2 separate regions of the Homo sapiens genome follow, and region 1 is linked to region 2. The links are contacts of gene promoters, found by promoter capture Hi-C in human tissues and cell types (Jung and others, 2019). All regions are on one chromosome and are shown on one strand. The core of a region is centred on a gene start or on the middle of the fragment in contact, and the rest is flanking DNA. Distances in the headings are between cores, read along the strand shown. Region 1 overlaps ATP2C2 (ATPase secretory pathway Ca2+ transporting 2). Region 2 holds the start of ATP2C2 (ATPase secretory pathway Ca2+ transporting 2).

Region 1 (5,765 bases), core at 747-3,246, 60 kb before region 2:
TGGGTTGCTGACAAGGAGCCCGGCTTTGGATCAGGCTTCAGTGGTTTGAAGTCTGTCTCTTCCATGCCCTGATCCCATAAGTTGTGCTAGTGTAAGCCTGTTTCCCAATCTGTAAAAAGGAGGCCAGACTTACCCCATGGGCTGTGTAAGGGTGAACTGGGATCACATGTTCTACTCCTGCTCCTTCTCCAGCACCAAAAGACCCTGGTCCCTCCCTCTTCAATTCCTTGAAGATTCTAGAACTGACTTTTTTTTTTTTTTTTTTGAGATGGTGTCTCACTCTGCTGCCCAGGCTGGAGGGCAGTAGTGTGATCTCAGCTCACTACAACCTCTGCCTCCCGGGTTCAAGCAATTCTCTTGCCTCTGCCCCCCAGTAGCTGGGATTATAGGCACGTGCCACCACGCCTAGCTGATTTTTGTATTTTTAGTACAGATGGGGTTTCACCATGTTGGCCAACCTGGTCTTAAACTCCTAACCTCAAGTGATCCGTCTGCCTCAGTGTCCAAAAGTGCTGGGATTACAGACGTGAGCCACCGCACCCGGCCCAGAACTGACTTTACTCTGTCCACCTGCAGGCTGCTCTTGGCAACTTTGCCGTTCGCGTAGACGGGTCTTCCCAGCCCTGGCTCAGGCCTCCTTGTCCTCATCTCCTTCAACGAGCTTGTTGTCCATCCACCCCCTTCTCCCGGCAGCCCAGTGCCTGCTGCTAAGGGGTTGAATTGTGTCCCTCCAATAAAATATGTTCACATCCTAACTCCTGGTACACGTGAATGTGACCTTATGTGCAAACAGGGCCTTTGCAGACATCATCAAATAAAAATGGGGTCATTAGAGTATCCACCCTAGTCCAATACAACTGGCGTCCTTATAAAAAGAAGAGAAGAGACGCAGAGACAGAGGAGGAGACCATGTGACAGACAGAGACTAGAGGCAAGATATCTATGTGCTCAGGACTGCCTGTGACACCAGAAGCTGAGAAGCATTTGGCTGATTCTCCCCCTAGGGTCTTCAAGAACAGCATGCTCCTGCCACACCTGGACCTCGGACTTCTGGCCTCTAGAATGGTGAGAATAAGCTTCTGTTTCCAGCCCTGCAGCCTGTGGTGCTTTGTTTTGACAGCCACAGGAATATGCACACCCAGTCTCCTCCAAGGCCTCATCACATCAGCCACAGCTCCTCCAGATCTCAGCTTCACGCTCCCTCTCCCACCTGCCTCTGCCTCTCTTCCCAGCTCTCTTCCTCTAGCCCTTGATTCCCATCGATTCTCCATCCCCACTGAGACCTACAATCTTTGAAGGTGGGAACCATGACTGTCTTGTTCACAACCTCCCCCAATCCCAACACTACATGAACATGAAAGGGATTCAATGAAAGTGATACGAACAGATCACGCAGTCACGTGCTATACACAGTAACACCGAAGGATAAATGCTCCTCAAAAGCTCCACGAAGGCTGGAAGCACTGGCTCACACCTGTAATCCCAGCACTTTGGGAGGCTGAGGCAGGTGGATCACCTGAGGTCAGGAGTTCAAGACCAGCCTAGCCAACATGGTGAAATCCCATCTCTACTTAAAATTTAAAAAATTAGCTGGGTGTGGTGGTGCGCCCCTATAATCCCAGCTACTTGGGAGGCTGAGGCAGGAGAATTGCATGAACCTGGGAGATGGAGATTGCAGTGAGCCAAGATCGTGCCATTGCACTCCAGCCTGGGCGACAAGAGTGAAACTCTGTCTGAAAACAAACAAACAAACAAACAAAAAAAACAACGCCATGAAGATCGTTCTGTTCAGGATATTAAGCCAGAAAGCCCCAATTCACTAGAGATCAAGACCATCCTACATTCAATAGACCCCCTTGGGTTTCATTATCCAGAGCCTAAGATGCCCTTTCGCAGGGCCATTAGTAAAACAAACCGAGAACCTGGGCATATATTCAGGGAAAAAGGGCTGCAACCCAGCAAAGACACCTGTACAGCACCACTGCATCATTTTCATGGTTCCAAACAGGTCTAGGGGGAAAGTCCAACCCCTGGCATACATCTCCGCTCATTTATAGGTTGTTTAAAGCTAAAACCTAAAGACTATTATCTATGAGTACAGCTTTTTTTCTTGTTCTTCTTTTCCTATTGAAAACTATCATTTAAGGGTATTCTGATGTGGTTTGAATGTCTTGTGTGTCTCATTACAGGATTTTTTTTTCTTTAAGGGAAGAGATGAACTTATTATGACTTAGAATTTATCTGGGATGGGGTTTTCCAAGTGTCTGTCATTTGTATTTTGCTTTTAGGATTTTTATCACATCTGTGTGCCCACATCATCACATAATATTCCAGCTCCTCTTTTCCATGTTTTTTTTGTGTGCTCTCAGCATTTGGTGTTACTAAGATTTTGTTTGTTAAATACACTGAGTGACAAAGTATCCAAAGCCAGACACAGTATTTCCAATTCCCATTAACTCAAAAAACAGTTATTGAATGCTTTTGTCATAGGACACACAGCTGCCCACATGTTGATTTTACCACCTGCCCCTCAATTAATGCACACCATGCAGTGTCGTTGAAAAAATAAGGCATTTGGAATCTCTTCTACTACTAATTACCAGATAATCGTGTACATTCATGTATACACAGGCAAGCCTGACTATGCACCAGAGCCATGTACACCTGATACTAGGTACCTGATACCATGTACCAGACCCAGTACACTCAACCCTTAAAGCAAGATTCTCTTGCCCACACTGGCCAGCAGGACAAACCTCTGTGTCCCAGCACACACTGGGATGCCTCAATCCACCAGGAGTTTGTCTGCTGTAATTCACTGTAATGATCATTACAGCACACATTTGCAATAATGGTTTACTCTTCATATATAAATTAGAAAGGCTCCGAGGACCCTCTCAATAACAGCATTCTTAGTTGCCTGTTCTATACCTTTCTGGTTTCTCTATTGATATATAATTTGTATATAATAAAATTCACTCCTTTAACATATATAATTGAATGGTGGTTAGTGTATGCAGAGTCGTGCACCTATCCGCACAATCAATTTTGGAACATTTTCTTCACCCCCGAAGGAAACCCCATAACTGTTAGGAGTCACTACACACTCCCCAACCCCAGGCCCTGGCAAACACTAACCTACTTTCTGTTTCTATGAAGTGACCTATGTTTTGGTTTGTTTCTTTTTTCAGACAGTCTCTTGCTCTGTCACCCAGGCTGGAGGGCAGTGGCGCAATCTCGGCTCACTGCAAACTCCACCTCCCGGGCTCAAGCGATTCTTCTGCCTCAGCCTCCCGAGTAGCTGGGATTTTAGGTGCCTGCCACCACACCCAGTTAATTTTTGTATTTTTAGTAGAGACAGGGTTTCACCATGTTGGCCAGACTGGTCTAGAACTCCTGACCTTAGGTGATCGTCTGCCTTGGCCTCCCAAAGCGCTAGGATTACAGGTATGAGCCACCGCGCCTGGCCGAGTGACCTATTTTTGAATATTTTATATAAATAAAATCATATAACATGTGCAACTGGCTTCTTTCACCTAGGAAAATGGCTTCAACATTAATCCATGTTGCAGTATGAATCAGTACTTCATTCCTTTCTGTGGCTGAAAAATATTCCACTGTACCTAAGTTGTTTATTCTTTAATGAGCTGATGGACATCTAAGTTTGTTTACATCATGGGTTTGATGTATTAATTACATATATATACATATGAACAGACACTAGAATGATTTTCCACACATCACCTAAAAACACGTTGCAGACAGCAGCTGCGTGTGCGTTACTGTCTGGGAACCAATGGGCCTGACATGAGCCTAGACATGGGTTGGTTCCTCCGTGTCCTGGCACAGCCCCTAGGCTCCCTTCCAATGGGACATACCCAGTTAGTGACAATCCCCGGCCTCTGCTTCCCTTGCTCTTGGCAAATAGCCACAGAAGAACTACTGACAAAGTCAAACCGCTGCACGATGCTGGGCTGCCCGTGCCTCTCCCTGTCTCGGCCACCAGGACCCAGGGGCTTGGGATGACTTATGAATCACTACGTAGAAGAAGGGCGGGTCCCCTCGGCTTAGCATCATCAAGTGATGATGACTCCCAGCCCTGCTGTCCGCGTGTGGCCTTGGGCTCTACATCCATTGCCGCTCTGATAGCCTCCTCTGTAAGACAAGGGCTTGGATAGAGTTGTAAACCAGTATTAAGAGCCAACACTCACTCTGCACTGTGTATCATGTGGGTGCTTGCACAGACTAACTCCTTTAATCCAGACAGTCGCCCTAGGAGAGGGTATATGAGCATTCCCATTTTTCAGAGGAGGAAACTGGGGCACAGAGAGCTAAGAAACTTGCTGGAGGTCACAGAACCTCCAGTTTTGTGGCAAGCGTAGAATTTAAACAGAGGCAGGCTGGCTCTGGGGTCCTTGCTCTTAGCCAGAAAGACCCAAACCCACAGGCAAAGAGTGACAAGAAAGCTGATACAGTTTGAATGTGTGTCCCAACTCAAACCTCAAGTTGAAACATAAGCCCCAGTGTTGGAGGTGGGAGGAGATTGGACGATGGGGTGGATCCCTCATGAATGGATTAGCGCCATCTCCTTCGAGCCGTTCTTGCTGGAGTGAGTTCCTGAGAGATCTAATTGTTTCAAAGCATGTGGCATCTCCCCTTCCTCCCTCTCCTGCCCCTGCTCTTGCCATGTGACATGCCTGCTCCCCCTTCCCCTTCCGCCTTGATTGGAAACTTCCTGGAGCCTCCCCAGAAGCTGAGCAGACACCATGCTTCCTGTACGGCCTGTAGAACCATAGGCCAATTAAACTATTTTCTTAATAAATTACCAAGCCTCAGGTATTTTTTTTTTTTTTAGCAATGCAAGAACAGCCTAATACAAAAGGGACACCCTGGATCATTTGCTGTCATTCATTTTGCAAGCATTCGCCGGGCACTCTGTACCTGTCGGAGAACATGCTATTGGGAGGCTGGAGTTTGGGTGACGGGGCTGCACCTTCCCAACCCTTCCTATTCTGCAGCCTCCCCACCTTCTCTTGCGGCAGGGAAGGGCTCAGAGCCCATTGACCACCCTGGCAAGGCAAGGGGCGGCCATAGCACTCTTACCTGACCCCGATCGTGAACATACTCAGGAGTTGTTTCCCTTGCGACCAGCCAATGAGCATGATGAGACCTGGGGAAGAGACAAAAACATCCTTATCTCCATATGCACTACACACGCTGATGCCTGGAGGGATTCAAACTCACTTCCTTAAAGAGTTTACAGGAATGCATGCACAGAGGAACGCCTGATAACCTCAACCACTTTCAACCCGTCTCTTCTCTTTTCTAAGGGAGATACGTTTATACCTACAAAAACCCGATTTTACTTTCTTAGGAAAGGTCCAAGCCAAATTTAAGTAAAAGGCTCAATCAGTCTATTTTGGACTGTTCGCAAGCATTTACATCTTATTCCCAAAGTTTACCGTCGGCTGCGTGTATCCAGAACATCCCCCCATGTGGTGTTTGTTGTGGCAAATGCAACTGCTCCTGTGATGGGCAGATAGGTCACTGTTTTTTCAAATTATTTTACTCTGTGGTACTCATGATTAAATATACTCCATTTCCATTTTCCTTCATTAATAATTTACCAAATACGTACTGCACACCAGTTACTGCACTAGGTGTACGAGACACGGAGGTGTGAGTAGGGACTGGGAAGGTGGGTGGTGTTGCCAGGTGACACCCTTGGAGAGCTTGCTAAAGAACGTTAGCTTTGCTTTGCAGGG
Region 2 (5,077 bases), core at 2,389-4,888:
TTCAACGATCCCCCACTGCTCCAGGGATAAAGCCCACACTCTGACAAGGCTCCGTACGACCCTCCTCTGCAGCCTCATCCTACCAACCCCAACGCCTCTACCTCTTCTGTCTAGAACTCGCTGTCAATCCCTGCCCTTCATCCAGCTCACCCTTTGCCACTCCTATTCATCTTAAACATCACGTCTTTCTCCCAGCTCTGACACGTTGGCATTAAACAGTGAACTGTGACCAGTTGCTGGGTGCCTGTCTCTGCCTCCTGGTTGGGATACCTGAGGGTAGAGAACTGTGCATCCTTATCAGCCCCAACTCCAGCTGGTAGCACTCACTTGACACACAGAGGGAGCCCCCTCCGTGAATCTAGGTTGAATGGATGGGTGGTCACTACATTCGTCTGTTGGGATCCAAGCCTCACCCTGGAGAGCCCAGAAGGATGCATCTGCTCACCAGCCAGGAAGGCAGTGGGCTGGGGCTATACCTGCCTCACTTAAGAGATGGGAGCCCTGAGGGGCAGAGACAGCTTCCCCCGGAGTTGGCGCTGAGTCACCTGGGAAGCAGGAATTTCTGCTCCAATCTCTTCCTTACCCTAATGTTCAGGTCAGCAGTGAGAAGCTTTTTCTAGTAACTAAATTAAGGAGGCCTCTCAAAGACCTTTTTGTTGTTGTTTTGTTTTGAGACAGGGTCTCACTCTGTTGCCCAGGCTGGAGCACAGTGGCATGATCACAACTCACTGCAGCCTTGACCTCCCAGGTGCAAGCAATCCTCCTGCTTCAGCTTGGTGAGTAGCTAGGACCACAGGTGCACACCACCACGCCTAATTTTTTGCAGAGATGGCATCTGGCTATGTTGCCCAGGCTGATCTTGAACTCTGGGGTTCAAGTGACCCTCCTGCCTCAGTCTTCCAAAGTGTGGGGATGACAGGCATGAGCCACTGCGCCCGGCTCAAACACCTTTCTTTCCATTCCTGGAAATGCTGAAATCCAGTCTCCAGTGCTTCTAACATGGGGTCGTCTCCAGTTCCCCTCTCAACCACCAGTCCTCTGTCTGGTCCTCTACTCTTTGATTCTCCAGTGCACCTGAGACCACTGGGTCTCAAATAAAGCATCTCCCAGTTTCTCAGCTGACCATTGGCCTCCTTTATGAACTTTGTTTTGTACACATCTGTATCCTCAGCGCCTAGCAAAACTGGCTGTCAGGAAATGCTCACTGAGCAAACAAACGTGGCCCCACTAGGAGCCTCACATCCTCATTGATCACATGACGAGAGTAAAATTTACCTTGGAGGTAAGAGGCCCAAGAGAAGACACAGCAAGTTCTCAGTAACAATCACTATTAGAACTGGGGTAACTGGTCAAAGTGGCTGGGGGAGGGGAGGGCTTAGAGGCCTCCTACAGGCATCCTGGATGTGGCATGTAATTAGTGCTCATAAAAGACGGTTCTATTGAGGAGTGAAAATGGAACCCCTAAATAAACTAGTATGAAATAACGCAAAAAAAAAAAAAGACAATTCCAACTATTGTAGAAGTGATCACCTCAACACACATCGCCTCCTTTCCAAACCCTGGGAGAAAGGAGTTCCAACGAGAGGACATGAGTATGACAGCAAAGGAGGTGTTCAGGTCTGAGCCAACCTGGCAGGAAGTGAGTGCCTCGCCCAGCCACCCGGCCTCCCCACCTCCCTCCCTCCTCACACTTCCCATCGATCTTCATTGCCATTTCCTGGGTTTGCACATTTCCTGGGTTTGCACAAGGCTGCCTCTGGAGACAGCATGGCTTCTTTCTCAGCTGGCCTTTGGTGTCAGTGCTGGTATCACCCGCCTCCTGGCGCTGCACACTGCCCATCATCACGCACCCAGGGCCTCAGGATGCTGCTGAGAGCACCCCGGTCCACAGCCAGGTGGGAGAGCACACTGACAGACCGGCTGAACACCTGTCAGACCTCTGAGAACTCTCCTGCAAAGCTTTGGAGGGACGAGTCCACCTGGCACAGAGATCAAACTCTCCCAGCATCTCCCTTGAGGTTACATCATCCATGCACCTGCATTCCTGGACATCCTGTGAAACCTGATGGTAACCAACTACACACCAGGAGAGTTTGAAAAATACCTGGCCTGATGCAAGAATCAAAAGATGGAAAGGAAAAAACAGGAATGGCAACATAGGAAAGGCAACCTGTGATGGCAAATAAACTTCAAACTCCTTTAGCAGAATGTATCGCAGAAGCAGAGAAATGGATCACAGCCAATTAATTGAACTCTATATCCTATCAATATTAACATGCCACTTCAGAAAAATCGAGATTGCTCAAAAACTGCTAGTTACGTGGTCCTGTGGCCTACCACCCTAAGACCAGAATTCTTACATCAACAGGGATGTATAAAACACTATTTTTAAAAAAGCACAAAACACTATTTTTAAAAAAGCACGAATACTTAATCTCACAAACAAAATGTTTTGACCATTAGTATTCTTTGGGAGAAAAAAATAAAATTTTAAGTCAAATATTTTTTCAGCTAATTTCTTTTTTTAATTAAAAGGTAAGTTTACCTTTGAAGTTTCCTTTCACTGGTCAAAAGGCCATCGCCAAGTCATATTTCTAATTAGCAACCCAGGGGACTCGTTCAGAAATGTTACTTTTGAACGACTGCTTAAGCGTAAATGAAAAAAAAAAAAGTGCAACGACCCTCTGGCGTGCAGAGAAACGCTTCTGCAGAAATTCAGTGCCCCCCTGACCTTAAAGCATGCAACGAGTTCTGTTTGCGAAGCTAAAAAGAAGGGTGTTGGGTCACCCTCAAGCCTGGCTTCACCCCTGGCTTCCAAGAATCCAAGGAACAGGAGGGGCTTTATTTGACAGCTTTGCCACTTCGTTCCCTCATGAACCGCCCTGCCCTGGCACCCTGCTGCTTTATCCCAGAGGGTCCCTGAAGGTTGCAAAGCAGGCATACAGCTCTGAGTGACTTTCTAAAAGTACCTGACTGTAGGAAGTGAGGCTGGGAGGTCCCTCAGCTCCAACTTTGCTTTCTATTATTGCTACAACATTTCAGCAATCTTTTGTTTTTTGCATCCCTCTAATTTTATTTTCCAATTTAAGTTTTAAAAATCCATAAAGCAGCCCAAGTCTGGAGACCCAGGAATTTTAATTCTCTGGAGTCAGAGAAACCTAGGTTAAGTTCCCAGCCAGGTCACTTCCTAGCTCCGTGCCCCTTAGGGAATATACTTAACCACTCTCGGCCTCAGTTTCTCAACCACAAAATGGGTTCACGTGAGGGTTCCATGCTGAGCTCCCCGCGCCAGAGCGCAGATGAGAGCGCGGTTGCTGTGAGGACAGCTTCTTTCCAGAGCCAGGGGAGGAGGGCGAGTTCGCGGATCGCAGCGCGAACGCGGGGTCTCGGGCCGGGGACGGTTACGACGGAGGGGATGGGGGGTCGGGTCGCACGCCCGGCGCGGAGTCGCGGGGACTCACCAAGGCTTCCTCTTCGTCCTTCTCCAGCGCCTGGTACTGGCGGCCCCCGCCCGAGAAGCCGAGTTTCTTCAGGAACTCGGAGACGCGTCCCTCGACCATGGTGAGCGGGCGCAGGCGTTGCCTGCGTCCCTAGGTCCCCGGCGAGGCCCGGGATGGCTGCGCGCGCCCAAGCCTCCTGGGCCGGACCCGGTTACCAGGTAGCTGTCTACCTGCCCGCGGCAGGTGAGGCCCCGCCCCTGGGGCGGGGCTGCGCACAGGGAGGTGCCGGCTCACCCGGCCCCGCCCCGCGAGCTCGCCTGGGACCCCAGGGGCTCTGGGGACAGCGCCGGCTGGCCATGAAAGGCCCAGGGAGAGGCTGCGTCGCCTCAGGGCTTGGGCTGTTTCCCAAACTTACAGATCCTAAGAATCACCTGGAGTGGGGGAGGTGGAGGAGCAAATGCTGGTTTAAAATCCGGATTCCCAGACCCCTCCCTGCCCAGTCACGGTTTGGAGCCGCCGGGAGCTGGGTTTTTAACGAGCCCCAGGTGATCCTCTTGAGGAACCCAGGGTGGGCGGCTCTAAGGCGCCGGGAGCGAGGTGGCTGGAGCTCAGTCAGACTCACACCTGCGGCTGTGCACTCTGGACGGGTCACGTGGCCTTTCTGAGCCTCGGCAACCTAGCCTGTCATTGAGCGGGGAGCAGCAGAAGGCTAAGACCCCCACCTCCAGGGCCCTGGGAGTGAGTCCAGGAACAGGAGCGACTGAGAGCCCTGCTGCCTTTGGCGCCTGCATGGTCTCGGATGGTCAGGGCCCCTGTCCTCGTCTGCAGGATGAGCGCCGCTCTTGCTCGTCGTGGGACCTGAGCAGGTTTCTTATATTTTTAGCGCCTTGGTTTACTGCTCTGCAGAATGGCCACCACGATAGCGCCTCCTTCACAGTGACATGGAGAGGCCCCAGCGGACAGTGCTGTACAGGAAGGTCTCGAGCAGGGCTTGGAGTAGAGAATGTGCTGGTGTCCCCATGACACCATCCTCCTCCTCTTCATCATCAGAAGGTGCTGGGCTCAAATGGCTCCCAAAGTATGTGAGTCCATACGCAGTGTAGACAGTTGCCAGCAGCCAAGTGGGTGCTTTGAAGTTCCAGGGCTTTCTTTGGCTTCAGGTAGGACTAGATCCGTAACTAGACCCACCACTTAGCAGAGGGGGAGCTCTGGGGAAGTCCGTGCCACCCGCCTTTCCGCTGGCTTCCTCATCTCTACAGGGAAGTTACTCACGGGCTACAGGAGGTGCCCTCTGCATTTGTCCACGAAATTCAGCCACCCCTTTTGAGCAAATATTTGCCACCTACCTCAATTGCTCCCGAGGGTTGACTCCAGGCCACGAAAACCTGCAGGGCAGTTCCAGTGCCCCTTCTTGTATCTCCTGCATCTTCCTCTTTCAAGGAAACAAAGGCTACGGTATCAGCCTGGCCCCACTCCCCAGTTTCAACAAAGGTGCAGGAATAATGGTAACAGCAAACCTCTGATGTGAGTGAGTCCAGATTTGAATCCCAGGAATGTTCCTTTCCGACCTTGGGCAATTTTCTTCACCTCTCTCCACCTCAGTTTACTCATCCATAAAATGGGGATGTCACTACCTA

Evidence for each region. The method cuts DNA at HindIII sites, captures the fragments that hold promoters and counts their contacts. A contact is called where the count stands out against the background at its distance.
Region 1: a contact is called between a fragment that was not itself captured here and the fragment with the promoter of ATP2C2 in region 2, in 3 of the 25 tissues and cell types used here (bladder, mesendoderm cells and neural progenitor cells).

What each region holds. Positions count from the first base shown.
Region 1 is chr16:84,425,140-84,430,904 of GRCh38, reverse strand. It overlaps ATP2C2 (ATPase secretory pathway Ca2+ transporting 2), which reads right to left. Exons shown (of 27, transcript NM_014861.4): 11 at 5,104-5,170. Among named protein-coding and RNA genes, the nearest start is that of ATP2C2-AS1, 39 kb to the left of the region's middle. The HindIII fragment of the contact is 5,768 bases long and covers 1-4,880 here.
Region 2 is chr16:84,367,099-84,372,175 of GRCh38, reverse strand. ATP2C2 (ATPase secretory pathway Ca2+ transporting 2) reads right to left here and starts at 3,638. Exons shown (of 27, transcript NM_014861.4): 1 at 3,462-3,638. The coding sequence starts at 3,560. The HindIII fragment of the contact is 8,598 bases long and covers 1,286-5,077 here.